7 separate regions of the Homo sapiens genome follow, and regions 1, 2, 3, 4, 6 and 7 are each linked to region 5. The links are contacts of gene promoters, found by promoter capture Hi-C in blood cells and fetal thymus (Javierre and others, 2016). All regions are on one chromosome and are shown on one strand. The core of a region is centred on a gene start or on the middle of the fragment in contact, and the rest is flanking DNA. Distances in the headings are between cores, read along the strand shown. Region 1 holds the start of LOC105377037 (a long non-coding RNA gene). Region 2 overlaps CTNNB1 (catenin beta 1). Region 3 overlaps LOC107986075 (a long non-coding RNA gene). Region 4 has its middle 44 kb from the start of CTNNB1. Region 5 holds the start of EIF1B (eukaryotic translation initiation factor 1B). Region 6 has its middle 27 kb from the start of MOBP. Region 7 has its middle 74 kb from the start of CTNNB1.

Evidence for each region. The method cuts DNA at HindIII sites, captures the fragments that hold promoters and counts their contacts. A CHiCAGO score of 5 or more calls a contact.
Region 1: a contact is called between a fragment that was not itself captured here and the fragment with the promoter of EIF1B in region 5, in 4 of 17 cell types (non-activated CD4 T cells, naive CD4 T cells, naive CD8 T cells and 1 more). The highest score is 8.3, in non-activated CD4 T cells.
Region 2: a contact is called between a fragment that was not itself captured here and the fragment with the promoter of EIF1B in region 5, in 8 of 17 cell types (neutrophils, total CD4 T cells, naive CD8 T cells and 5 more). The highest score is 9.4, in neutrophils.
Region 3: a fragment that was not itself captured here is called in contact with the fragment with the promoter of EIF1B in region 5 in 2 of 17 cell types (erythroblasts and naive CD4 T cells); the score reaches 10.3 in erythroblasts.
Region 4: a contact is called between a fragment that was not itself captured here and the fragment with the promoter of EIF1B in region 5, in 4 of 17 cell types (monocytes, naive CD8 T cells, total B cells and 1 more). The highest score is 7.3, in monocytes.
Region 6: a fragment that was not itself captured here is called in contact with the fragment with the promoter of EIF1B in region 5 in 2 of 17 cell types (erythroblasts and total CD8 T cells); the score reaches 6.8 in erythroblasts.
Region 7: a contact is called between a fragment that was not itself captured here and the fragment with the promoter of EIF1B in region 5, in 1 of 17 cell types (monocytes). The highest score is 6.6, in monocytes.

The regions. Positions count from the first base shown.
Region 1 is chr3:39,375,927-39,379,569 of GRCh38, forward strand. LOC105377037 (a long non-coding RNA gene) reads left to right here and starts at 586. Exons shown (of 3, transcript XR_001740661.3): 1 at 586-654; 2 at 1,550-1,751. It overlaps LOC105377644 (a long non-coding RNA gene), which reads right to left. Exons shown (of 3, transcript XR_007096252.1): 3 at 3,505-3,643. RefSeq lists a silencer at 2,276-2,325. The HindIII fragment of the contact is 8,755 bases long and covers 1-3,643 here.
Region 2 is chr3:41,219,853-41,223,967 of GRCh38, forward strand. All of the region lies in intron 1 of CTNNB1 (catenin beta 1), which reads left to right. Among named protein-coding and RNA genes, the nearest start is that of CTNNB1, 22 kb to the left of the region's middle. The HindIII fragment of the contact is 8,015 bases long and covers 1-4,115 here.
Region 3 is chr3:39,419,553-39,423,588 of GRCh38, forward strand. LOC107986075 (a long non-coding RNA gene) reads left to right here. Exons shown (of 2, transcript XR_001740663.2): 1 at 1-1,162. Among named protein-coding and RNA genes, the nearest start is that of SNORA62, 11 kb to the left of the region's middle. The HindIII fragment of the contact is 4,098 bases long and covers 677-4,036 here.
Region 4 is chr3:41,241,421-41,245,109 of GRCh38, forward strand. No RefSeq gene overlaps it. Among named protein-coding and RNA genes, the nearest start is that of CTNNB1, 44 kb to the left of the region's middle. The HindIII fragment of the contact is 1,189 bases long and covers 1,100-2,288 here.
Region 5 is chr3:40,308,314-40,312,129 of GRCh38, forward strand. EIF1B (eukaryotic translation initiation factor 1B) reads left to right here and starts at 1,394. Exons shown (of 4, transcript NM_005875.3): 1 at 1,394-1,659; 2 at 2,580-2,743; 3 at 3,157-3,258; 4 at 3,657-3,816. The coding sequence starts at 1,629. The coding sequence ends at 3,701. It overlaps EIF1B-AS1 (EIF1B antisense RNA 1), which reads right to left and starts at 1,385. Exons shown (of 3, transcript NR_033965.1): 1 at 1,010-1,385. It overlaps LOC124906228 (a long non-coding RNA gene), which reads right to left and starts at 498. Exons shown (of 2, transcript XR_007095876.1): 1 at 1-498. RefSeq lists an enhancer at 1,125-1,484 and a silencer at 1,755-1,804. The HindIII fragment of the contact is 2,965 bases long and covers 1-2,730 here.
Region 6 is chr3:39,439,097-39,442,949 of GRCh38, forward strand. No RefSeq gene overlaps it. Among named protein-coding and RNA genes, the nearest start is that of MOBP, 27 kb to the right of the region's middle. The HindIII fragment of the contact is 6,817 bases long and covers 1-3,853 here.
Region 7 is chr3:41,123,293-41,126,878 of GRCh38, forward strand. No RefSeq gene overlaps it. Among named protein-coding and RNA genes, the nearest start is that of CTNNB1, 74 kb to the right of the region's middle. The HindIII fragment of the contact is 4,712 bases long and covers 1-3,586 here.

The sequences.
Region 1 (3,643 bases), core at 926-3,425, 930 kb before region 5:
CATATTTTCATGAGTAACCTCATCCCAAAAAAGATTTCAGTCCAGGCTTCGTTAATATAATCATTGCTTAAAAAATTCTTTGGGCTCAAACTGGAGAAGGAGAGATTTTTTTCCTGTTGAATTCAGATGAAACTAGCATCTTGGAATGCTTGCTCTGGCAGGTACTGAGCCAGGTCCATTCACATTATCACTACCTCATGCAGTTTGCACAGCAATTTGCAGGGAGGGTGGTGTTATTCTCATTTTTACACATTTGAACATTGATGCTCAGAGCAGTTAAGTGACAAGCAGCAGTAAGTGTGGCATATTAATGGGAAAAAGTTTCCGAGATTGAATTCAAATGCCACTACCATCCACTAGCTCACAAAAGAAGAGCTTCCTGCAGAATGGCAGTAACAATTGTTGATCATTCCTTCACACCTGACCCCTCGCCTTTAAGAACTTGTCTATTTATAAGTAATTTAAGAAGCTATGTTTCTCTCCATCTGTTTAGGTAGAGAAGAGCATATAGAGGGAATTGTGAGTAAGCCAGATTAATGCACCAGAAAAAGTAGAAACTGCACCAGAAAAAGTAGAAACTGCACCAGAAAAAGTAGAAACTGTACCAAGAACAGGAAGGACGGATTGGCACCAGTGAATTCAAACAATAACCAGGTAGAAGATAAAAGAAGGTGTTGTCATGTGATGGATTATCCAAAATTCCCAGTGGGGAGGACTAGCTATCTGGACTCAATCATCTACTCTGTCTCCCAGAAAAGGGAGTCTCTGGTTGAGCCGCCTTTTTTTTTTTTTTTTTTTTGAGATGGAGTCTCACTCTGTCGCCCAGGCTGAAGTGCAGTGGCGCGATCTCGGCTCACTGCAACCTCCACCTCCCGGGTTCACACCATTCTGCTGCCTCAGCCTCCCGAGTAGCTGGGACTACAGGCAACCACCACCATGCCCGGCTAATTTTTTGTATTTTTAGTAGGGATGGGGTTTCACTGTGTTAGCCAGGATGATGGCTGAGCCTTCTGATTGTAATAGGACAGTAAGGAGATAAAATAAACTACATAGTCAAACAAGGTGAACCGTCTTAGAAGCAGAACCTGAAGGAACTGGGGAGCAGGAGAGGGAGGCACAGAGGAGCTGGAAGCTGAAAGGAAACAGGCAGGGGAAAGAATGTGTCTTTGAATTGCATATCAGCAAGGCTCTCCAGTGTGAGTGAGACTTGACCAGTTTGTAACTTCCCGTGTACGGAAATCCTTCTAACATGCAAATCTGACCCTTTCATTCTCCTGCTTAAACCTCTTCAGCATAAAGCCTACATTCTCCTACATGGTTGATGGAGGGCCCCAGGCTCTCCCTCTGGCCTCCTCCCTTCCATTCCTTCCCTCCTACTAGACGTTTCCACATTTACAGTTCTAGGAATCTGACATGCTCTCTCTTACCTCTGGGTATTTGTACATGCTCTGCAAGATGAAAACAGACTCATCTATTAGTAAATGCTTGAATGAATGAGTCAAATCGGAAGGTACTGGGGACAGTCCACCACCCCTTTTGGACTTTTCAGGTCTCAAGCAGTAGCCACCTCCAGTCTGATACAAAGGATTACTCCCTCCCCAGTGCCAGCTGGAGCCCCATCATGGTGAGGCTCTACAATGAGTTCATGGAGAAGACTGTGGATGGGTCATGGACAAGACTTCCAGGTTGTTGGTGCTCTGTGCAATTCCTTAAAGAAGCAGACCTTACTAAGATTGCTAAAGCTGTCCCTGGTATGTTGAAACCCCCTACACCAGTAGGGTTTAACTGGGCTTGCAGGGGTGCTCTAAATAATACAGAACTGTTGGCAAAACTTTGTTTATGCATATGCATTTTCCTCAGTGCAATCTGTGCCCCAGCCTATCTCCTATATCTCCTCTGTGGCTTGCATTAGCCTGAAAGTCAGGACCAAGGGAGTCTGGAGATCATGATCCCTGATTCATATGATATTAGCCCAGAAAAGGAACTTGGAGCCACTTAGTTCAAGGCCCTCATCTTACACGTGAGAAAGCTGAAGCCTAGAGAGGTGACAATGAGTTTTTGTCAGATATTGGACTAGCATCAGAAACTCCTGACTTTTAGTTCAGTGTTCTCTCCACTTCTATCCGAAGCCACTCCTGGCATCTCCTTATACTTTCCCACCACAGCTGGTCTCCTGTATAGACCAGACAGATGAAGCATACATGAGGAATTGGAAAGGGGCAGCGTCTGGGACCAAGGGCCAGTGCCTTCACCCTGGTACACCCAAGGCCAGTAGCTCAGTGACAATGCCAGTGGGACTATCAGGTAATTTACAGACACCTGAAGCCAGGACCCAGAACCTGTTGGGAACAGGACACGTGTTCCCTCTAGTGGCCAGTTTGAGCTGAGCTTCTGACTGGGTGAAAGAGAACAGATGGGAAAGAATGGCAGATGATGGAGTGCCACGCGTGTTAAGAAACAAAGGGGCCAGAGGGAAAGACTTCTAATTTACATACCTAATCTGTCATTAGAAATTCTGCTTTGAGATTTTTGGTAAAAATGCAGATGTTTGGTAAGTATTTGGAATTAAAAAAACATAGACACAGGGTCTTGCTCTGTCACCCAGGCTGGAGTGCAGTGGTGCAGTCATAGTTTGCTGCAGCCTTGAACTCCTGGGCTCAAGAGACTGTCCTGCCTCCACCTTCCGAGTAGCTGGGACTACAGGCTCATTCCACCACACCTGGCTACTGTTTTTATTTTTGTAGAGACAAGGTCTTGTTATGTTGCCCAGGCTGGTCTTGAACTCTTGGGCTCAAGAGATCCTGCTGTCTCGTCCTCCCAAAATGCTGGGATTACAAGCCGGAGCCACTGAATCTACCCTAAGTATTTAATTTTATATATGGGAGGCTTCACTCTTGACCTCTAATTAAGGCCCATAAACTGGCCAGGCGCAGTGGCTCACATCTGTAATCCCAGCAATTTGGGAGGCCGAGGCAGGCAATCACCTGAGGTAAGGAGTTTGAGACCAGCCTGGCCAACATGGTGAAACTCCATCTCTACTAAAAAAACAAAAATTAGCTGGGCGTGGTGATGTGCGCCTGTAATCCCAGCTACTCAGGAGGCTGAGGCAGGAGAATCACTTGAGCCCGGGAGGCGGCGGTTGCAGTGAGCTGAGATTACACCATTGCACTCCAGCCTGGGCAATAGCACAAGACTTATCTCAAAATAACAAACAAGAAAGTTGAGGTGAATACACAGCTAGCAGGTGACAAATCCAGGATCAAATACAGAATCAATGCCTGATTCCAAAGTCCACTTTCTTTTTACAGCATTACTCTGCCTCAGTGGTCTCTCAAAGACACACAGAAAAAAGCAGGAGATAGCCTCTACCCTTTAAGGAAGGGAAACAAGGTGTATTTGTCAGGGAAATATGTGTCCTGATTTTCTTTCATCCAGATTATGAAAGATAATCTCCTTTACTTAAAGTCAACTGATTACAGAGGTTAACCACATCTACAAAATACCTTCACAGCAACACCTGGATTAGTGTTTAATTGAAAACTGGGTATTATAGCCTAGCCAAGTTGACACATAAAACTGACTGTTACACAAGATGCTGCTTATAAATGAAGTCATTCTGTCCAAGATAAAGAAAAGCTGGCCT
Region 2 (4,115 bases), core at 274-2,773, 910 kb after region 5:
ATTGTTGGAATAATAGACAAAATGGGGAAGAACAAGCTCAGAATGGAGGAGGTAGCTTATAGTATAGACATACGATACAATCCAGATGATAATATTTTATAATAGTCTTCACAAGGAATTTTATATTTTTATTTTTAAAAATACATAGCAGTGAGTTTAATATACCAAACATACCAAAATGTCATCATTTACTGTGTGGTGGACTCATATGATGGAGATGATAAATAAAAATATTAATTTATTTGAGGCATATATTTATGGCTGAGGAAGGAAGACAGTTATGAAGAACAGCTCATTCTGGAAACATACTAATTTTTCCCAGCCATAAAGAGATTTCCTATTTCTTTTTTTTTTCCATTTACCTTCTGTTTCCTACCTGAGAAGATTTCATACTTCTAATAACCATTTGTGTACCTATTTAAAGACAGTACCAAAGGCATACATTTTAGTGTTTGGAGGACCAAGGGTCATTTGATGTTTGATGCTTATTGACTATTCGAGGATGACAAGACACCTTGAGAACACACACACCCACACCCACACCCACACCCTCACCCACCCACCCCACCCCCCTCCCCGAAGAAAGCTGTGAAGGAAGAAAGCAGAAAAGAACCTGGAGTGAGTTGTAACTTAAAATGTTAGTGTTGCATGAAGTGTGTTAAAACAGGAAGATTTGAGGAAATTGCATACATTTTCTAGATGGCAAAGTATTACTGGTGACAGTTAATGAAAATGCATATGCATGTGTTTTTAGATTTACAAATTTTACTAAGAACTTTTTAAAAATCCCTGAAGGTGTATCAAAAGTTTATCATGCTTATGAAATAGAGTAGCACTTTCTAACTTTAAAACGGGGAATAATTCTTTGGATCTTGATTATTGGAAAAGTGAATTATGAATTGCTAGTATAAAACTGTGGTTTTAAAATATGTCTGCTTTATATTTTTATGTAGCAGATTTACTCCTAGTTAATAATACTCAAACTTACTGAAAACTAAGGTAATTAAGATAATTCTGTCCTGATGGGAAGAGGAAAAATAACTTCAGTGTGAAATCTATTATATATTAGTTGTGGCAAGATTTCTCCCATTGACTTTGACTGGAGACATTTATAGGGTTAAAATCGGAAATAGCACGGTGAATTTTGAAGTATCCTTGTAGTTGGAAAGAGTATTATGTTCATATTGCCAAAAAAAAGATGCATGGATGCATTAGACTGGATGGAAAATACATGAGAAGTTGGCTAGCCCCCTCTTTGTCAAAACATCACTTGGTGGTGATAAAGCTGTTGGAAAACACAGCATTCTAATGTAGTCTGTAGTTTAATGATAATCTGTGTCTTGAAACATTTAGCGTAGTACTTATACAAACCTAGATGGCATAGTGTACTGCATGCCTAGCCTATATAGTATAGCCTGTTGCTTCTAGGGTGTAAAGCTGTATAGCGTGTTACTATAGGCAGTTGAAACAGTGGTATTTATGTATCCTTTTTTTTTTTTTTAAATTCTTTTAAGAGACAGGGTCTTGCTCTGTTGCCCAGGCTGGATGCATTGGTGTGATCATAGCTCACTATAACCTTGAACTCCTAAGTGATCCTCTTTGCCTCAGCCTCCCCAGTGGCTAGGACTACAGGCACATACTACCACACCTGGCTAATTTTTAACATTTTTTTGTAGAGATGGAATTTCGCTGTGTTGTCCAGGCTGGTCTTGGAACTCTTGTGCTGCAGCAATCCACCCGCCTCCCAAAGTGTTAGAATTACAAGCCACTTCGCCTGGCTTGTTTACCTAAACATAGAAAAGATCCAGTAAAAATACAGAATTAAAATCTTGTGGGGCCACTGTAGCATATGTAGTCCATCTTGACTGAAATGTCCTTATGCAGTGCATGATTGTACTTCATAATTTTTAAGCACTCCTCCCTCTTGATTGGTACTTAGTGGATTTTATCATTTTTGTTTCTTCATAATTCTTTCTGAAATGTCTACTGGTTGGACCTTTGATCTCCTGAATTGATCGTGATTTCTTCTGTTGTATTTTTTGTCTTTGTCATTTTTTTGTACTCTAGGCAGTTTTCTCAATTTTAGTTTCTATTCAACTTTTTGTTTTTATTTATTCTCTCCAGTATTTATGGAGATACTAAATTGAAGTGTTCTGTTTCTCTCTCCACCCTATCCCTAGTTTCAAGTTTTATCTCAGTTTCTATGGAGTCAGTTTTTTCGTTGCTTTAAAAAAAAATTTTCCTGAAGTGATTGGTAAGTTTTGGCTAATTGGGAGCACTAGAATTGGGCCCTTAATGGTTGGCAGGGTGTGGTGGAGGAGAGACAGCCCTTAGTCCAAAGGCTCAGGCCAGAAAAAGAAAGAGGAAGGCTTTCCTTTTCCTTTCCGGAGCAGGGTTCTGCCCTAGGTCTTGCTTGGCAGTCTATTTGATTTCTTTAGCAGTTAATGCTCAGTTTTTTGGCATATGTGGATCTGCCTCCAGAGCAGGTACAAGGTGAGTGAGTCTATGCTGTTACCTAATTAGATCCCCATTTCTACCCTTTGTTTTTACTTCTCTATCTACTGATAGGTTTTTACCCTCCTTCACCTCATAGGGTTGCAGTGAAGAGCAAGATGAATTTTTATTTATGTTGCATAAATTTTAAAAGCTAAAAAATATATATGTAATGTTGGGAAGTCCCAGTGTACAAATGGCTATTGTAAATTTGGAACATGAACTTGCTTTTTTCCATTGTAAAAATGAAATCATTATAAATTGCGGTCAAGTTACTAGGTCAGCCCACACAGAGTTTACCCAGTAATATGCGTAAATGTTTTGCCTTTGCATCAACAACAAGGAAAAACAGTACTATAAAAAAATGTTCCTGGAAGCCGGATGTATCAAAGCACTTCTGAAATAGCTATATAGCCTATAGACATGACCAGTTGGTTTCTGAGTCTGTTGACATTGGCCAAAGGAGAAGCTCAGTGTAGAACATGTTTGGAGTCTCCTTTTGCAGAAATACATTGGAGGCTGGAGTGGGGAACCAATTTTTCAGAAAGGTGGTGAAGTAGTTACATAGCCACTCTTTTAAAGACAGTCAAAAGATAGAAACTAAGGCCAGGTGTTGGCTCACATCTGAGATAGGAAAATCACTTGAACCTGGGAGGCGGAGGTTGCAGTGAGCCCAGTATGCACCTCTGCACTCCAGCCTGGTTTGGCAAGAGACCAAAACTCTGTCTCAAAAAAAAACAAAACATAGTTCACACTTAAATATTTTATTCCATATCTTTACATACCCAATATGTTAATTTATAGTTCAAGATGAACTTGTTTGGGACAGATTTTGTAATAAAGGAAATCGTGTTATTAGAAATATCTAGAGGCCATGAGCCCTTAAACTGTTCTAATTTGCAAGTAGTTCCCTGTGTGATGCAGTTTTTTTCAATATTGCACAATAAAGGCAAAATACGGACAAATTAGATGATAAGATTTATATAAATTTTTAAAATATTGATCAAAATATGTATCCATATTGGTAATATTTGTATTTATAATAAATCATTGCTGTAAATTTGAACTTAGAAAAATTTTACTAATAAAGGTGCTTTTGTGTTGCAAACTTTCATTTGAAAAGTAATTTTTCTTTGTACCAAAAAATCTAAAATTCGCTATTCTAGTCACCAAAATTTGCTTTATGAAAAATAATTTTTGATGGCACTATATCAGAAAACAACTTGTTAAAGAAAATGTGGAGTTTTTAAAATCCCACTGTACCTCTGTTATCCAAAGGGGATCTGTGAATTTTTCTGTGAAAGGTTAAAAAAGGAGAGACCTTTAGGAATTCAGAGAGCAGCTGATTTTTGAATAGTGTTTTCCCCTCCCTGGCTTTTATTATTACAACTCTGTGCTTTTTCATCACCATCCTGAATATCTATAATTAATATTTATACTATTAATAAAAAGACATTTTTGGTAAGGAGGAGTTTTCACTGAAGTTCAGCAGTGATGGAGCTGTGGTTGAGGTGTCTGGAGGAGACCATGAGGTCTGCGTTTCACTAACCTGGTAAAAGAGGATATGGGTTTTTTTTGTGGGTGTAATAGTGACATTTAACAGGTATCCCAGTGACTTAGGA
Region 3 (4,036 bases), core at 1,476-3,975, 890 kb before region 5:
CTGATTTACACTACTGAGTTTTTCAACCCGTGAGCAATCTGTGTGTTACTCCATTTTCTCATTTTTATGTCCCTCAATAAGGTTTTATAATTTTTCCTGTAGAAGTTTTGCATGTCCTTTGGTAAATTTATTTGTAGGTAATTGAGACATTTTAAAATTGTTCCCTTTTGGGAAACTATTAAGGATCCTGTTGGAAAAACTCAACCTCATGTTCTAAATAACGTGATATCCAGTGGTAAATGTCACTATTTCCGTGGGGTTTCTGACCCAGCCTGAGCAATCCAGAGTTTTTCTACAAGGCAGGGATGAGATTGCTAAACTCCATCCATGAAAAACCTGCTTTTAAGCCTACAGGTAAAACATTCTATTTGTTTAATAGGGCAGGGCAAGCTGTACTTCTGAAAATGCTAAGTTCAGCAGGCTTCTTTTAGGAATAGTGCCAGAATTAGCCAATTCTACTTTGAAAAAAATCTCAAGTAAAATAATAAGAACTCAACATTCAGCAAATATTTATTAAGCACTTACTCTGGACCAGGTATTATTACAAGCAATGGGGATAGAGCAGTGAATGAAGACAAAGCCTGTGACCTTGTGGCAGTTATCTGGAGAGGCAGATAACAAGTGAACAATTTATTTACTATGGAAACAGAAGTGAGGATGATGGAAACATGAGGAAAGCTTTTGTCTAAAGCAAGAATCACAGGCATCAGCCTATAGAAACAGGACAAATGGAGAAAATCACTGGAGAGAATGACAGCAAAGAAACCCCTCCAGAGAGAAGAGGTCTCAGTCCAGCCTCACACCAAGTAGAGCCTCATCAAAACGTTCTGTTCTCATAGGGAGTTGGGGGCCTGTACCAGAGGCCATGAAGTCTCTTGGAGTCCATGCTATGTGAGTGGTGCACATCTCCACTGCCCAACCCATAGAAAACTCACCTAAGTTTTCTCTTTTCTCTTCTATAGATATTTTTGGAAATGAGTTGGGGACAAGGAAAAAGCTATCATTGCACAGACATCTACCCCAATTCTGCCTCCTGCTGCACTCTCACTGAGAGACAATGGTCCAAGAAGCACTCTCCCCTCTCCATGGCTGGCTAGCTAGGTTCACATTGGTGCAAAGAGCACTCGACATTGCCAGAAGTGTGCATCATCATGTCCCCATGGTAAGGCCCTCTCACCACCTCTCCTCAGTGACTCAGCTCTGCATTTTCTTCCATCCGATACTCTTATCTCAACCCAAGGGGTGTCTTCCATTTATGATGTGCAAAAGAAAGGTACAGTCTTTAGCATGAGAAAGTAGTCCCTTAGACCATCATGGTGGCACACAAGACTCTGCACAGGCCATCAAGTCTGAAGAAATGAATGGGCTAGTTTGACATTTGTTTCAAAATCCCTTACAGGGAAATTTTTTTGGTATTACTGTATATCATTTCATATAGATATATTTCTTTTAAGTAAGTTGTCTTTTTAAGACAATATCTAGTTATTGACAATGTGCTTTTGCCATTTAGAAATAAAGAATATGATCATTGCAATTTAAAACCCAATGAGCAGAAAAAATAATAAGACACTGTTGTAGAAAGGTTTGATGAATTAGAAAAAATATATGAAAACAATTATTCATAAGGAGAACAGAGAGAGGAGGAAAAAAAATACAAAAGAGGAGATACAAAGAGAGTAAAATTAGAGAGTCAAACTGTCTAATTGGAGTTCCAGAGAGAGAGAAGAGAGAATAAAGAAGTCAGTGTCAAATAGATATGACTAAGAAATTCTCATGAATCTACAAATAGATATGATCCGAAATTCTCATGAATCTACAAATTCAGGAATTCCAATGTGTAGTAAGTGGAAATGGTTTTTAAAACCCCATTCTTATTTACATTGTTAAAGAATCCTGAAATGCCAAAACCAAAAGTGTTCTTGAAAGAAGCCAAGGAGAAAAGGAAGGACACCTGACTGTTCCCCATCAATGGTGACAGCTAGGGGACAGTAGAATGAGAAAAACAAATGGCTAACTGACTCTGTCATTGAAGAATTAGGACAATATAATGACTTTTCCAAAAAACAAAAGTTAGTAAGGAAAAAAGAAAATGAAGGCAAAAGAAAGCTGCGGCCAGGATGAACACCAATGTTTATGAGGATTTCTCAGTCATATCTATTGAACACCCATGTTCATCCTCCTTTCTTCCATACTAACAGAGCCTGTGAGTTTTCACTGAGCACAGGCTGAAAAGCTGGTGCCTCACATTACATGGTGGTAAAATGTTGGGTCAGGTTTTGGAGCCTGCATTGCTTTGGAGGGTAGACCAAAATTTGATCAAATCTGTGGCATTAGGAAAATGGTAGGAGAGATCCAGAGTGACGGTCTGTGTGACTCTTGGCTGCTTTAAGCATAGTCCTATGAGAGACAAGAACTCTGGCTAGATCTGGCCAGCCTACAAGCAGAAGTGAAAGGACCTAGAATTGTGCTAATGCAGGCATTTTCTGTCTTGGTCCGCAATATACAGAGTCAAACACTATTTACCCACCTCAAGCAGTTATGAGCTACGTATCTGAAGGGACAGACTCCACAGGAGATAACACTCTTGCCCTTTGGAAAGGTAGCATGCATTAAGGTGAGATTAAGGTAGGGTTAAAGGAGTTGTTTTCCATTCCAAACCTACCATAAACAAGAAAAAAGCCCCAGCCTGGCCAACATGACAAAACCCCATCTCTACATAAGCATAACAAAATTAACGCAAGTGTGGTGGCAGGCACCTGTAATCCCAGCTACTCGGGAGGCTAAGGCAGGAGAATCACTTGAACCTGGGAGGCGAAGGTTGCAATGAGCTGACACTGCGCCACTGCACTCCAGCCTGGGCGACAGAGCAAGACTTCGTCTCAAAAAAAAAAAAATGAAAAAAGTCTGGCAAAATCAGATAATGGTAACAAGGATTTGGAACAAGAACTCCTATACTAGGTGGTGGGAGTATAAATTGGTACAGTTTGGCATTCTTTAGTAACATAAGCATCTATATTATTGCCCTTGAAGGTATACACTAAAGAAAATCATGCACATTTGCACTAGGGTATGTGGACAAGAATTCTAATTGACAAACTTGGAAGTAGCTCTGGGTCCATCTACAGTACTGTTGATAAACTATTGTATATTTATACCACAAAGTGCCAATCAGTGATGAAATTAAACATATCATGGCTACATGCAATGACATGTATGAATCGTACAAATTTGGGCAAAATAAGTGTAACAATATTATTCCTAATATGTGATTCCATTTGTGAAAAGTTCAAAAACAAGCAAAGGTAAGCTATATCTATATCTATATCTATATCTATATCTATGTCTATGTCTATGTCTATGTCTATATCTATATCTATCTATCTATCTATTTTTTTGAGATGGAGTTTTGCTTTATTGCCCAGGCTGGAGTACAGTGGTACAATCTCAGCTTACTGCAACCTTCACCTCCCAGGTTCAAGCGGTTCTTCTGCCTCAGCCTCCCAAATAGCTGGGACTACAGGTGTGCACCACCATGCCTGGCTGATTTTTGTATCTTTAGTAGAGACGGTGTTTCACCATGATGGCCAGGCTGGTCTCAAACTCTTTACCTCAGGTGATTCACCTGCCTTGGCCTCCCAAAGTGTTGGGATTACAGGTGTGAGCCACTGCACCCAGCCTAGCTATATTCTTTAGAGATATATTCCTTGGTGGCAAACATTAGACTGTGTAAATCAGTAACAAGATTTCTAATATATGGGGTAAAAAACAAGCAAGATAAAAGCAATCAACAAAATATTTACAAAGAGTATAGGCTGGGTGTGGTGGCTCATGCCTGTAACTCCAACACTTCAGGAGGCCAAAGCAGGAGAATCTCCTGAGCCCAGGAGTTCCAGATCAGCCTTGGCAATGTAGCAAGACCCTGTCTCTAATAATAATGATAAAAATTTTAAAACGGGTATGGAGGTTATGTGAAAGATAAAGTGTTTTGAGGTCTTTGTTAATGAGAGAGTTTAAAATATCAACTTCAGACCATAAA
Region 4 (3,689 bases), core at 444-2,943, 930 kb after region 5:
TTCAGCTTTTAACATAAAGAGCCACCGCACGGTGTTTCAATTACAGAAAGAACAACTTTTTAAAACCAGAGAATGTTTTCAGAGCTTTGCTAATTCATTGTATTTTATTTTTGAAGTTTAAAAACTTAATGTGAGAGTTAATCCAGTTCAACAAGGTGGCTCTGGAAGTACCAAGGGTGAATAATAGCCAAGACGCTTAGGAAAAATAGCACTTGCTCTAGCAGCTGTCAAGGCCTAACTACTTAATACAAAGCTAAAGTTAGTTAACCCTGTTACAGGAATAGGGATATAAATACAGATTAATACAGAATAATACACAGGCATTTAAAGACTCTTCAGAGACAGCGTTGGAGATCCGAGTGGGAGGAGAGCAACTTTTTCATAAAGGTGTGAAACAGCCGTTGGAATAAAACAATACAGAAAAACATCCATGACCCAACAAAATATCAAGATTTTAAATAAAGGCAGTAGTACTGATTTTTCTTTTGCCTCAAGCGCCAGTAAGGCTTGGTAGGGCACAACGCTGACAGTCTACACTGGACGCCCATGTGTCCAACAATCTCTGTTCACACGAGACAGTGCAGTGAAAAACTACAGCTTCAGTGATGTGGGTGTCAGTATAGTATGCATATATCTATCTCACATAACACTGAACAAAAGCAAGTTACAGATGCATGCTTTAGAACTCCATTGATCATCAATTAAAAAAAGGGACAAGCTATTTTAAGGAAAATATCCACAGATGGAGCAAGGAGATGATTAGATGACTATAGAAATCAGAATAATGGTTAACCTGGAGAGGGAGGTGCATGGGATGCTGGCAAGGTACCTAACCTTTCCTGTAAATAGTGGTGAAGAAAGTGAGGTCAAGTTTTCAATAAGAGAAGTAGTGGTGGGGAGGAAAAGGCCTAAAAGGAATGCTGCCCACTTGCATTTCCGGGTACAGGAGGTGAAAATGACAAAATGAACATGGCCGTTGAGAATAGGAGGGCTTTCCAGCCTGAGTGTTCTTTTTTCAGTTGTGCTGTAGTTATGAGACAGCCTTGAGAGTTAAGACATTTGATCCCATTGCAGCAACCACCATTGAACCAAAGAAGGAAGCTTTTCTATGTTGGAGCAGATCTTACAGACATGAGGCTTTGAAATCTGATGATCTGAATCCTTAATAATGAAAGATCTTAAGATAAACACACTCTTTAACTCTTGGTTGCTATAATAAAAAGATGTGAATTGTGCTGTTTTGTTTATAAAGCAAAAATGCTAAGTTGATCTGCAGTTCTATTAAGTGAGAACCTGCCTTTCCTTGCCTTGAGCAGATCACCCACCAAAGTGAAATTATGAAATGATGGGGCTGCAGGGGCTGTCAGGGCAGTTCTTCCTTTTTCTTTTATCGCAGCCTCCTATGTGGAATTCTGTATAATATCCATTCCACCACTTGAGACTCCAGTAAACGTAGAAGGAAGTGACAAGTTTCAGAGTTGAGGTTGTGGGGGAAGGTCAGAACAGGTATAGGGGTATGCAGGAAGGCAAAGGAGAAACCCCATCTCTATGTATTTCCAAAGTAGGTTTTGGCATGAATAGGGAAAGGTCCGTGTGTCCATAAATGTAATTTCCATGTTAGGTACGACTGAGAGCCACTCTGTGACAAAGCAGTTCTACTCAGAATTATTTGAGGTATACTCACGAGTATGTACAAGGAATTCATTGCAACACTGTCAAAGATAGCAACCCAAATAGGTGTCAAAAGGGAACCTAACTAGTTAAGCAAATTTTGATGCATCTATTTGGTGGACCACTCTGCAGTCAAAGGGGGGAAAAAAAACCAGCCCATAAAGCTGTGTTTTGGAATAAAATGGTCTTCAAAATACATAGTAAGAGAAAAAGCAAGGAGCAGAGTTGACAGCTGCTCACATATGGGTAAAAAGGGGTGGGTGCAGAATCTTTGTGAAGATAGGCATAGACCATCCCTGGATGCACACGAAGACCCTAGTGGCAATGGGCACCTTGCAGGAGGAGACAGGGAGAGGACTAACAGCGTGTGAGGGAGGAACTCTGCTGTCTATCTTTTGGGTGTTTTCACCAGGCTTCATTTGTACCAGGCTTCTGGATTGGATATCACCATTCAAATGTAATTATTTATTAAAACACCTAATGGATGCATTTGTCCACCCGCCTCAACATCAAGCCTCTGATGGGAGAGGCCAGAGGCTGGATTTTAAGGGCAGATTAAAACTCCTCGTTCTAGGCCCAGCTTCTTGCTCCCACACACCACTTCTCAACCCCACTGAAGCTTGAGGCCAAGGCTGCCTAGCTTTGCCTAGTCTCGCCCAACCCCACTCCAGACAGCTGTCCCAAGAGGCCAAGCCTCTTGTAGCTTTCTTGCAGCCTCTTCCCCCGTTCCCTACCACTTGCTACCGTAGCCCCTGTATGTATAAGATTATATTCTACATTGCATTTTTCTGTTGCCAGGGGAAAGAGAAAGGGCATCTTGCTTCAGGTGGAGACAGGTGAGACCTGGTGAGGGAGATTCCTCTCCCATCACCTTGTACGAGAGCCTTAGCTACCAGAGCCCCCATTTTCTCAACTATAACACAGGGATGATGCCCGCCCTGTGTTCACAGAACCGACCTGAGAACCTCATAGGAGAAACTTGAAAAGATAAACTGCAAAGAACCATAAGATAGTAAATTCTGTTGCTGCATTCCACTGACTCACCTACTTAGGTGCCATGAGTGATTGTCAGCACCTTTCAGGACACCTGTGACCAGAGTTACCCCAAATGGTGCTTCACGGAGGGACAGCTTAATGGGGATGCAGACTCGGCTGTAAGTTAAGGCAAGGTCTTAGAACTTTGGGCTTGCTGTTAGTGGAGGGAGAGGAATAGACCTGTGTGCAGCCACTCACCTGAGCCGCCTCTGCCCTATTGCTTGTCACCTCCTTTGCCTCTCACCTCTGTGACTTCAGTGACCCATTCATCCCTGAAGAGAGCCAGTGGATTGTAGCTAATAAGCAGATAGCTGAAGCTTGGGGATGGAGGGAAGGAGAGGGCTAGTAGGTGTGGGCCCTTTGCCACTGCCAGAATCCTAAGAGCTGAGGGGCCCGGGGGGCCAGCTCTGCTCTCAGAATGGAGCCACTTAGGCATGCCAAATACTAAGGTACAGGCCTGGGGAGGGCAGGGAAGGGTTACTGCTGTTAGCTGCCCTCTGCCCAACCAGTCTGCTCATATCCCCTACCTCTGAACTCAAATGGACCTGGGCTGCTGCTTTCCATAGGCACCTTTCCTCCAGGACACAGCCTCACCAGGGACAAGGCTTGGCATGGACTAGCTTTAGTGGCCCAACATGTTTGGCAGGGCAGTGGCTCTGCTTGGGACCATCATCTCCTTGTCCTTGCTTACCCAGATAAGCTTTTCCCCAGACAGGCAACACCGGGGCCTAGGGCCAGGACTGGCCCACTGAACAAAATGGCTCTGGAATATTAAGAGTTTCCTGTTCTCTGTTAAACAGCGAAGACGACTCCTTGCTCAAGTGAGAAGGGGAAATAAGAAGAATCTTCCATTGCTCTGAAATACCCTGAGAGGACTCCAGACCCAGAACCCCATGGGCGTTACCCCCACCCAAGAACTAAAGGGAGACGGCAAAGAAAACAGACCTCAGCCTGTTCCTGTATCCAGCAGGCAAAGCCACTGG
Region 5 (3,816 bases), core at 144-2,643:
CATAGTGATAGAAGGACCTGTCACTTCGCACCAACAGAAGTTACACATACTTTCATATTAAATTTCTGATGTTACGGACATCACAAAATATCTCTTACATTTATCAGCTTTTTGAAATTATAGTATTAGACCTAATCTTGCTAGATCTTATTAGTGTATTAATAAAGAAATACACGTTATTAATGTATTTTTTAAATTTCAATATAATTGGTTTCCTTTGTAATCCTATGTACTTTGTGAACTTAAAACTTAACTTCTCATTATTCTGAGAAGGGATTCAGCAGCTTCACAGGATTGCCATGGCACACACAAAAAAGTTAAGAATCCCTAAATTTTAGTCTATCTCTTTGCTTCCAGAAAGCCAACCAAGTTTGACAATTGAACACACCTGCCTGAGTGAGCCAATTCCCAAAGTCTCGGGTTTATTTTTCTGTGCGTGACCTGATAGGAAGATATTACGGTCTGGTACATGACTCCATCAATTAACCTATTTGCTGAGCTCACCTTCAGCTTATACCTGGCATCTTTCCTGAATTCTCTGTTGGGCCTTCTGAGGCACACAAAATGAGCTGACAAGCTGATTTTCTGGTATCTTCTGTTCATACACACCTGGCCCCCACTCGATGCCAGGCCCAGGATTAAGCTGGGCAGTGATTCTCAAGCCTGATCCCAGACCAGCAGGCAGGATCAGCATCACCAAGGAGCTTATGAGAATTGCAGATTTTCAGGTCACACCCTAGACTTCCTGAAACAGAAACTCTGGGGTCTATCAGTGTTTTCTCAAGCCCTCCAGAGACACACGCTTTAGTCTGAGATCCACCGTGCTAGGGAATCGGAGGTCCGTCCAATCCTGGAAAGAGAGGCTCCCATCTCCAGTATTGGTTGAGACTAACACCGCTCCTGCAACTGGGGTTGGAATTTCAATGCAGGTAGTTGCTGAGCGGGGGCCAATGAGTTGAAAGCCGGAGCAAGGGGACTTGTTTTGTTCCTGCACCCCGATTTTACTTACATTACCCGGGGCCTCGAGGGTGACTCATAGAGATTAGCCCTGAGCGTCGACCCCTCGGCGCCGCCACTGCACAGCGAGAGAAGGGGAGTCAAGAGAGACGCTTGAGTCCCTTGACTGTCCTCCCCTACGAGCTCTCTGGGAAGAGAGCCCCAGACCTGCGAACTCTGGGCCGCTCTGCGGCCGCTTGAACACTTCGCGGGTCTTCCGCCCCGCGCTAGAGGACGCACTCCGTGACGGGAATTGCGGTCTCGGCCGCCCCCGGCCTCAGGCTTTCCGGGCTCTGCTGCCTCCAGAAAACTACAAGTCCCAGGATGCTCGGCGCGGGACGGTCACGTGGGAGGGGCCGCGGGCGCGGCTAAATAGTCTCCATCGGCCATTTTGTGCGAGAAGCCGCAGCGCCGCCTCTTCTCTCGCGCCCTCGCCTCTTCCTCCGCCTCCTCCTTCGCCTCTTCCTGCCTCCTCCCGGCTTCCGCCGCCGCCACTCCAGCCTAATCCCAACCCCAGGGCGAAGCGTTTTCTTATTTATTTCCGTTTTCTCGCCACTACAGCCTCCTGACAAGGTGATCCGGGCGGGCCCCGCAGGAATTTTATCCCCTCACCGGCCTCACACTAGTATCGCATGTCCACTATCCAGAACCTCCAATCTTTCGGTAAGATCCCGTCGCCGCCGCCTCCCTCCCTTGCCCGGCGCGCATCTCGGCCTTTTGCCCGCCTGGCCACCGCCCCTAGGGGCCCCCTTTCTGCCCTTCCCGCACCCCTAGTGGGGCTTTGTCTCGGCGCCCAGAAAATGGCGACGGGGCCCCTGGCGACCCCTTCCCCGAGGACAGCGCCGGACTCCGAGCCCTCCTCTCGGAGCCCCGGCCGCGGGCCCTGCGCCACCCCCTGCCCCGTCCTTGACCCGGCTCTCGCCTCCGCTTCTGCCCCTTGAAACCTTGGCGATCCTATTTCGTGGACTCCTAGATCGGCCCTGCTACTTGCAAAGGGTATGCCGGGCCAGGGAAACCAGGGATCGGCGCCCGTTCTCTGGCAGCTCCTGGGGGCACTTAGGGAAAGATGCGGATGCAAGCCTCTGATCTGTCACTGGCCAGTGGTTCAGTCTTCTCTGCTTGCGTAGCAATTTGTTAAATTACGCCTCTTGATATATATGTAATCTACTTTTTTTTTGGCAAGGCACAGTTACGGTTAAATGATTAAGGTGGGCGTATTCGAATGTTTATGTTTTCATCAGAATGTAATCGAGATGACGCACATTTTTATAGCGGCTACAATATTAAGGTTTTCTAAATCTTTTTCTCATTAGAGGACCATATTGAACGATAACATTATTTATCTATAACAGCGTTTTTCTACAATGGACATAGCTGTTCAAATGTTTCTCTTTTTGTGAGAGTATCTTGGGGGTTTTATTAATACTCCACCCCCATCTCCATTCCTACCGGCAAAAACAGCAAAGGCACTAGAACCTTCATTGATGACTGTCTGGATTGGTAGTATAATGTATTTCTGGAAAGTACTTCTTAAAAAATATTTTTCTACTTTGGATTTTTTTTTTTTTTTTATCCATTCGCAGACCCCTTTGCTGATGCAACTAAGGGTGACGACTTACTCCCGGCAGGGACTGAGGATTACATTCATATAAGAATCCAGCAACGGAACGGCAGAAAGACACTGACTACTGTTCAGGGCATTGCAGATGATTATGACAAAAAGAAACTTGTGAAAGCTTTCAAAAAGGTAAAGGGATTAGGAAGAAAGGATTAGAGTTACTGATGCACACCTCTGAACTGGATTATGATTCACACCTTTATATCGGCGTGGATGAAAATAACTAGACCAAGAAAGTTGTTCTCATTTTTGTAATTAACATGTAAATATTTAGTTATTCTCCCAGTGTGGTCTCTCATTTTAAAAGAAGATTCGCGTTGCTTTTAAATAAATTTAAATGTGAAATATTTAGTTCTTGATGTTACACATAAAATCATTTCCTGGTTTACAAATTAATTTGGAAGGATTGTGGATTATAGGAGACAAAATCTGTTTCTCTAAATATGATCTAGCTTACTGAAATGGCTAATTCTGTTCATACGGTGAAATAAAACCTCATAGTAGTTGACTAAATTTTGTTGTATATTTATGCACTTTTCCAGAAATTTGCCTGTAATGGTACTGTGATTGAACATCCTGAATACGGAGAGGTTATTCAGCTTCAAGGTGACCAAAGAAAAAACATCTGCCAGTTTCTCTTGGAGGTGAGTGATTGGGTGCTTTATGTGTAACCTTGAGATTGCTTTTAAAATTGTATTTAAAGGCAACATGATTTGTTTTCTACTAAGTAAAAAATCATACGAATGAAGGAAATTAGGTGAAATAAAGACATGGTAGTTATTTGGAAAGCAAAGACCTTTATCTGGTTTATTTTGTCATTAGAGTATTCTGATCATTTCTTTATATACACACACAGGCTATTTCTTGGCATGTAAAGTATTCAAATACGTGTTGAATTGTTGGCTATCAGCAGTGCATGCCACAGACAACAGTGTTGCAGTAAGCTGTTGATAGTGATTCTTTTTAATTACTCTTCCATGTTTTCTTAATGAATTTTTATATTTCTCAGAGTTATTTTGCTAAATTAGATTTTATTTTACAGGTTGGCATTGTAAAGGAGGAACAGCTTAAGGTTCATGGATTCTAAAATGAACCTAAATACGTGGAGAATTTCTTGAATAGTTTTGTTCTCTAAACCCGGTTTGGCTGCCTTGTGAAATGATTCCCTGCAGTAAACGGACTTTTCATTTATTTAATCATTC
Region 6 (3,853 bases), core at 1,302-3,801, 870 kb before region 5:
TGATCTCCAAGTTTTATTTCCTCCCAAATAGTACGTGGATGACCGGGCAACAGAGTTCCCCAAATGATCTGATAAAACTTCATGTGGGAACCAGCGAAGAAAGTAAGGCTGCCTCCCAGGGTCAGTCAGCTGCATGGAGGCAGGATGAAGACTGGTACCTGCACCTCTGAAAAGAAGGGCAAAGCCTTCTGTGCATTGCACTTCCAGGCATGGATCACACTAATGCAGCCTGGTTCATTTCTCCCTAGCTGTGCCTTCAACAGCAGCTGACAGGTGATGGGACAAGGTCTCTAAAAAATTTCATATGGGGGTCAGGCTGCAGGGTAGAGCAAAGGTTGTCGAGGTCTGAAAAACCTCTGACTACACCGGCCTCCAAGCCTGCTCAGATGGCCCACACACTCGGGGAGCTCTTCTCAGTCACATCAGGTCAGTGCTGTTTTTTATGAGTCCTTGAACTGTGCATGTTTCTCATCATCCATGCTAATCTAATGTGGGCTCCAGAAGATAATCATTGTAACGAGAGGATGCTTAATGTTGTGATTGAAAAAACTGTAAGGCCTACAGCTTATGGATTATATAATAATGTAATAGTTATTGATTCAATCATTCATTTACCCCAAATCTATGCAACTGGGAACCCATAATGAGCCAAACTTTTTGCTAATTACTAGGGCAATAATGGCCAGAATTAAGTAATTTCAGATAATAAATCACCTTTGCTCAGCTTTGGGACTAAACCCTCTGTGAAACCAGCAGACAATGTCATCATTTTCTCCTGCTTCCCTCTCCAGATTCATTCCATTTTCTTCCTATTAAAATTCTACCCTCTAGGCATGCAGCTCACCTTGAGGGTCCCTGATCACTCTCCCTTCTAGGACTTCACAGACACTCTCCTCTTTTCTCTGCAGCTTTTTGTTCCATTTTTGCATATGGCAGCTTGGACAGTTTTCTTTGGAGAGTGGGAAGAATAACATATTTTTGTTTTATTATTAAAAAATACATTGTCCAGGCCAGGTGCAGTGGCTTACGCCTGTAATCCCAGCACTTTGGGAGGCTGAGGTGGGTAGATCATTTGAGGGCAGGAGTTCGAGACCAGCCTGGCCAACATGGTGAAACCCCGTCTCTACTAAAAATACAAAAGTTAGCCGGGCGTGGTGGCAGCTGCCTGTAGTCCCAGCTACTCGGGAGGCTGAGGCAGGAGAATCACTTGAGCCCAGGAGGCAGAGATTGCAGTGAGCTGAGATTGCGCCATCGTACTCCAGCCTGGGCGACAGAGTGAGACTGTCTCAAAAACAAAACAAAACAAAACATTGTCCAGTGCAGTGGCTCATGTCTATAATCTCAACACTTTGGGAGGCTGAGGTAGGAAGATTGCTTGAGCCTGGGAGTTTGAGGCCAGCTTGGGCAACACAGGGAAACCCGGTCTCTACAAAAACTTAAAAATTAGGCAGTGTGGTGGTGCATACCTGTAGTCCCAGCTACTTGGGAGGCTGAGGCGGGAGGATCGCTGGAGCCCAGGAGTTTGAGGTTGCTGTGAGCTATGACTGCACTACTGCACTCCAGCCTGAGTGGGAGAGTGAGAACTTGTCTTTTTTTTTTTTTTGAGACGGCGTCTTGCTCTGTCGCCCAGACTGGAGTGCTGTGGTGCAACCTTGGCTCACTGCAACCTCCGCCTCCTGGGTTCAAGTAATTCTCTGCCTCAGCCTCCCGAGTAGCTGGGATTACAGGCGCCCACGACCATGCCCAGCTAATTTTTTGTATTTTTAGTAGAGACAGGGTTTCACCATGTTGGTCAGGCTGGTCTGGAACTCCTGACCTCGTGATCCACCCACCTCGGCTTCCCAAAGTACTGGGATTACAGGCGTGAACCACTGCGCCCGGCGGAGACCTTGTCTTTTTTTTTTTTCTGTTTTTTTTAAAGTTTCAACAAAAATGAAATACCACCTGCTGATAACTCTAATAAAAAGAAAAATATATAATAGGTATTTGCTTTAAAGATTGTTTTTTTTTTTTTTTTTTTTTTTTTTTGAGGCAGGGTTTCACTCTGTTCCCCACGCTGGAGTGCAGTGGTGCAATCTCGGCTCACTGCAACCTCTGCCTCCCGGGTTCAAGCGATTTTCCTGCCTCAGCCACCCGAGTAGCTGGGATTATAGGTATGTGTCACCACGCCTGGGTAATTTTTGTATTTTTAGTACAGATGGGTTTTCGCCATGTTAGCCAGGCTGGTCTCAAACTTCTGACCTTAGGTGATCCACTCGCCTCGGCCTCCCAAAGTGTTGGGATTACAAGCGTGAGCCACTGCACCCAGTCCTAAAGATATTCTTGAAAAAATCATAATTGCAGTTGTTTACATTGTTGTGTTGCCAGCTCTCAGTTATTATGCTCATATTCTTTATTCTATGTAATATGTGTGGAAAAAATTTAAATCCTAGGTTGCTCCTGGCGTAACTCTGTAGACTCAACATCTGGAACTCTTTCTCTATTTTCAAGTTAATGTATTCTCAGAGCATGCAAAATAATTTGAATGACTGCCTAAGGAAGCACTAATACATGCTAAAACATTATGTTTTCTATAGCTAAAGAGCCCTTTGCAGCCACAGTTTTTTCAAATATTCCTAGAAAACAAGATCTGGCTGAACTGAAAATACTGATAGTATAATCAATAAGTTAGACTTGTTAAACAAAGAGTAAAGAAATGCAACATCTGAATTCTTTAAAGCCACAAGCCAGAGGAACAGATCTAAAGCACTGACTACTTAAAGCATTTTCTATCTTCAAACTTCTAGAAAAACAAATATTACAGAAGCCTTCTGTTCTATTTCACAAATCCTGACTGGTTTGAAGTGAAAGGAAATCAAGACACTAAACAAGTCAAGAAAAAAACCTTAAATACCATAAAATATTTATTAAAAAGACATTATAATTTGCAATGTATTTTGCAGGGAAAAAATGGAAGCAGGAATTGAATGCCTAGCTTTGAAAAATGGAAGCAGGAATTGAATGCCTAGCTATGAAACCAGTAGGCCTCTGAGAGTTTCACTGTATTTGCAAAATAAGGGATTTGGTTACATGATCTCCAAGTTTTATTTTCTGCCAAATAGTCCGTGGGTAACCAGGCTTCAGAGTTCCCCAAATGGTCTGATGAAACCCAATGTGGGAATGGACAAAGAAGTAAGGCTGCCTCCCAGGGTCACTCAGCTGCATGGTGACAGGATGGAGGCTGGTGCCTGCACCTCTGAAAAGAAGGGCAAAGCCTTCTTTGCATTGCACTTCCAGGCATGGATCACACTGATGCAGCCTGGTTCATTTATCCCTAGCTGTGCCTTCAACAGCAGCTGACAGATGATGGGACAAGTTCTGATACAACTCACAGCCCTAAGCATGATTGGGACCTGCAGTGCTCAAATCTGTACAAAGGTTAGTGGGATTGGTAATTAGAATGCAAAGTTATACTCTGTGTGATTAACAAAGATGCTGCAGATGCTGATAGATGTGACAAGCTCCTTATTTGCATGCCTGGATGCTAGCCCTCCCTTTCACTGTTTAGTTTTTCCAATCTCTGGTTCCATGAGACCAAGTCTTTAGCTTCACCTATAATGACTTTGCTCTACTATGTATCACTGGAATTGGGCATGAATATATTTGAAATCTCCAAATGTTCAAGCATAACATTTTTTTTCCTTTAGTAATCAAAGAGACTGTTACACATTTATACAATCTATTATATGCTATGTGCATAATCTGTCCATGTTATTATTAAAAATAGAATATTTCTCACAACTAATAATAAACTAAAATGGAAAGACTGGATAACATTCAATTTCTTATTGATTTAGTCTCTGAATGATTTTCC
Region 7 (3,586 bases), core at 971-3,470, 820 kb after region 5:
TGCAAGGCCCAGGGCCTGGGAGATGCAGACATGCATATGCCCCAGGCCCTGCCCTTGAGGCCACACATTCTGGAGGAAGTGATCAGCACATTATAGATCATTAAGACACTGTGTGGTTTCTGACCGTTTAAGAAGCCTGCTCTAGCAAAATAAATAATGATAGTAAAGGATTATAGCCAAGTGTCCACACTGATATAAATAAATAATTTAATAAATCAATAAATAACAGAGAAGGAACAGCTCTTCCTTACAGAATTCTAATTAATAGGTGTACGAGGAATAATAGAAATAGAAAATCACCATTTGAGCTGGGCGCAGTGGGCTTACTCCCGTAATCCCAGCACTTTGGGAGGCTGAAGTAGGAGGATCACTTGAGCCCCGGAGTTTGAGACCAGCCAGTCAACATGGTGAGACACTCATCTCTACAAGAAAAAATTTTTTTAATTAATCAGGCATGGTGGCACACACCTGTGGTCCCAGTTACTGAGGAGGCTGAGGTGGGAGGATCACCTGAGCCCAGGTGGTCGAGGCTGCAGTGAGCTGTGACTGTACCACTGCACTCCAGCCTGGGCAACAGAACAAAACCCTGTCTCCAAAACAAAAAAGAAAGAAAGAAAATCACCACTTGGCAATTACCACACTAAGGGTTGTAGGCAATAATGTGAAGCTAATGCTAAAATTAGCAGACAGATGCATGCTGAGAACAGGATATTTACATAATCTTAAACTATCTCCCCACAAGATACCTATTAATTAGAAAGGGAACAATAGTAACTTTATAGTGGGGAGACCTGACAGACACCACCAAGCCATCAAAGTTAAGATCACCGACAATAAAACATGCTGACATTACACCTTTCAAACCCACATTAAGAGACATTCTACAAAATGACTGGCTAACGTTTTTTATTTATCTATTTATTTTTATTTTTTTGAGATGAGGTCTCACTCTGTCACCCAGGCTGGAGTGCAGTGGTGCGATATTGGCTCACTGCCGCCTCTGCCTCCCAGGTTCAAGTGATTCCTGTGTCTCAGCCTTGTGAGTAGCTGGGACTACAGGCCCGCACCACCACATCCAGCTAATTTTTGTATTTTTAGTAGAGATGAGGTGTCACCATGTTGGCCAGGCTGGTCTTGAACTCTGTCTGGCCTCCCGAAGTGCTGGGATTACAGGCGTGAGCCACTGCGCCCAGCCTGGCTAACATTTTTCAAAAGCACCATGGTGACAAAAGGCAAAGAAAGACTGAGGAAATTTCCCAGATTAAAGGAGACTAAGGAGACACAACAACTAAATGTAATGCAGGATCCTGAATTGAATCCTGGACCAGAAAAAAGAGCATTAGTGGGACAATTGGCAAAATATGAATAAAGTCTGTAGATTGGCTAATAGGGTGACATCAACATTAATTTATTGGTTTTTATCCTTGTACCATCATTATACAAGATGTTAACATTAAGAGAAGTTGAGTGAACAGCACACAAGAGCTCTGTATGGCTTCAGCAACTTTTTTGGAAATCTGAAATTATTTCAAAATAATAAGTAAAAAAATATGGGGGGGAAAATGCCTGCACTGTTTCCTCACCTTAATTATCAAAGCACCTGGGGGACTGTTTTGGAAAGTTTGTTTCATTTCTTTCTGTCCCTTCCAGGCTGTAAGCCTCTCCACGGACAGGCTAGTTCACTTTGGGATCCCTGTGGTGCTGATGTACAGGAATTTTCATATAATTTGCTCCTCCAACACCCACCCCTTGCAATATGAGGACCATTGCTTAGAAGTGGAAAGGGAGCCTATGGAGAAAATTCTGGACTTAGAGAATAGTGCTGCTTGAATATCACCATATGTTTTATAAAAAGAAAGGGCAGTACAGAGATAGCATGATAGGTAGATCATTTGCAAAACTGGGCACAATTCCCCCACCCTTTCCTAATCCATGTCCCTTTGCAATGTACCTTTCCAGATCCCTCTATCCCTTCCCCTGGCATCTGTGTTGGACTTGTACACACTTTGACCAACAGGCAGAAGAGGTGATACTGAACCAGTTTTGAGCCTGCTCATTCTCTTTGAACCGTATCCACCCACCTAGTGCAAAAACCTGGGCTAGCTGCTAGAAGATAAGAGGTCACATGATGCAAAGACAAGCCAACAGCCAGCCAACCATTTGAAAGAAATGATATTTTATGAATGAGCTTGCTAACTGACCACAGGCTCATGAGTGAGTCCAAACAAGACCAGAAGAACCACTTGGCTGAGCCCAGCCCAAATTGCTGACTCACAACATCACACGCTAAATAATTGGTTGATGTTTTAAACCACAAAGTTTTGGCATTGTCTGTTACACAGCAATGGATGACTGACATAGTAGCAAGACTCTTATAGCTCTATATCCTATATCTCCTATAGTTCTAAGCTCAGAAACTAATGCTAATTACCCTCTTTTTGCCTCAAATAGACAAATGCAAAGACATAGATCCTTGTTTTTAAAAAAGGAAAGCTACAACCAAAATAATCCCAGAGCAGTCTCTCCTCCTGAAAGAGAGAATTTGGACCACTCCTCCCCAAAAGAAAGGCAACCCATGCAAAGGGGTCACACTTGATAAGGAAGCAAAACACGGGCAAGGCCAGCTGGGCAACTCCTCAGTAAAAAGATATTTAATATCAGGGGTCTCTGGGGGTAATGGAGGCAGAATGGAAGGGTAGTGGGAGGAAGTGACTGAATAATCTCCCTGCATAAATCTTGTCTACACCTTCTCCCTGAGGGATGGCCAGCAATCTCCTGAGGCTCGAGTTGCAGGGCAGAAGCTGTCCTAGGCTGCAGGAAGCCCAGAGGAATTAAGCAGGCTGGGCTGAGGTCAGCACACAGAAGTACATCCCAAAGGACTGCCAGAGAGAGAAAGACAGGAGGGGGACATGAGTGACCAGAGGACTAGAAGGGTGAGACAGGAGGGTATGTGAGGGCTACAGGGGACACCAGCCATAGGATCCCTTGAGCTTGAGCTGGAGGCCTCCCAGAGGCTAGGAACAGGATGGGCAAAACTCCCAGGAGATGAGATTACTAGCTAAAATTCCAGGTAAGCCCCCAGCAAGAGTTGCCTTATTTGATTCTTCAGGGCTTCACAGTCCATTCCCATGTGCTTAGGGCCCTCATGGCAGAGCTCAAAGACAAAGCTCAAGGAGCTAGGTTAGCACAGTACAGAGAGGGATTTAGATCTCTGAATGGTGTTGAGTGTCTGTCGTCATAGAATTGGTGGCTATTGCATGCTTTATCTGTTTCCACAAAAGACAGGCTCAGTCATTGCTTCAAGGTACATGCCCAACACCCACTTGGATGCTATGAGAGACAAGCTCAATATTTATTCTGTTCTGTCTCCTTGGTAAGGATTCAGCACTGGTCACTGACTGGAATATCCTGTCTTTACTTGCCTCGTGACATAGGTACACTCCGTAAAGTGATAGCTTGTCGTATTCTCACAAAGTACCTTCTTGCCCTGGTCACAAAGGAAATGGCCTCTTGTGCCCCTTCCCCAGCTCTGACCCCCCAGCATGAGGACTCTGCTTTTTCCAGGAATTGGCTATCATCTGGCCAC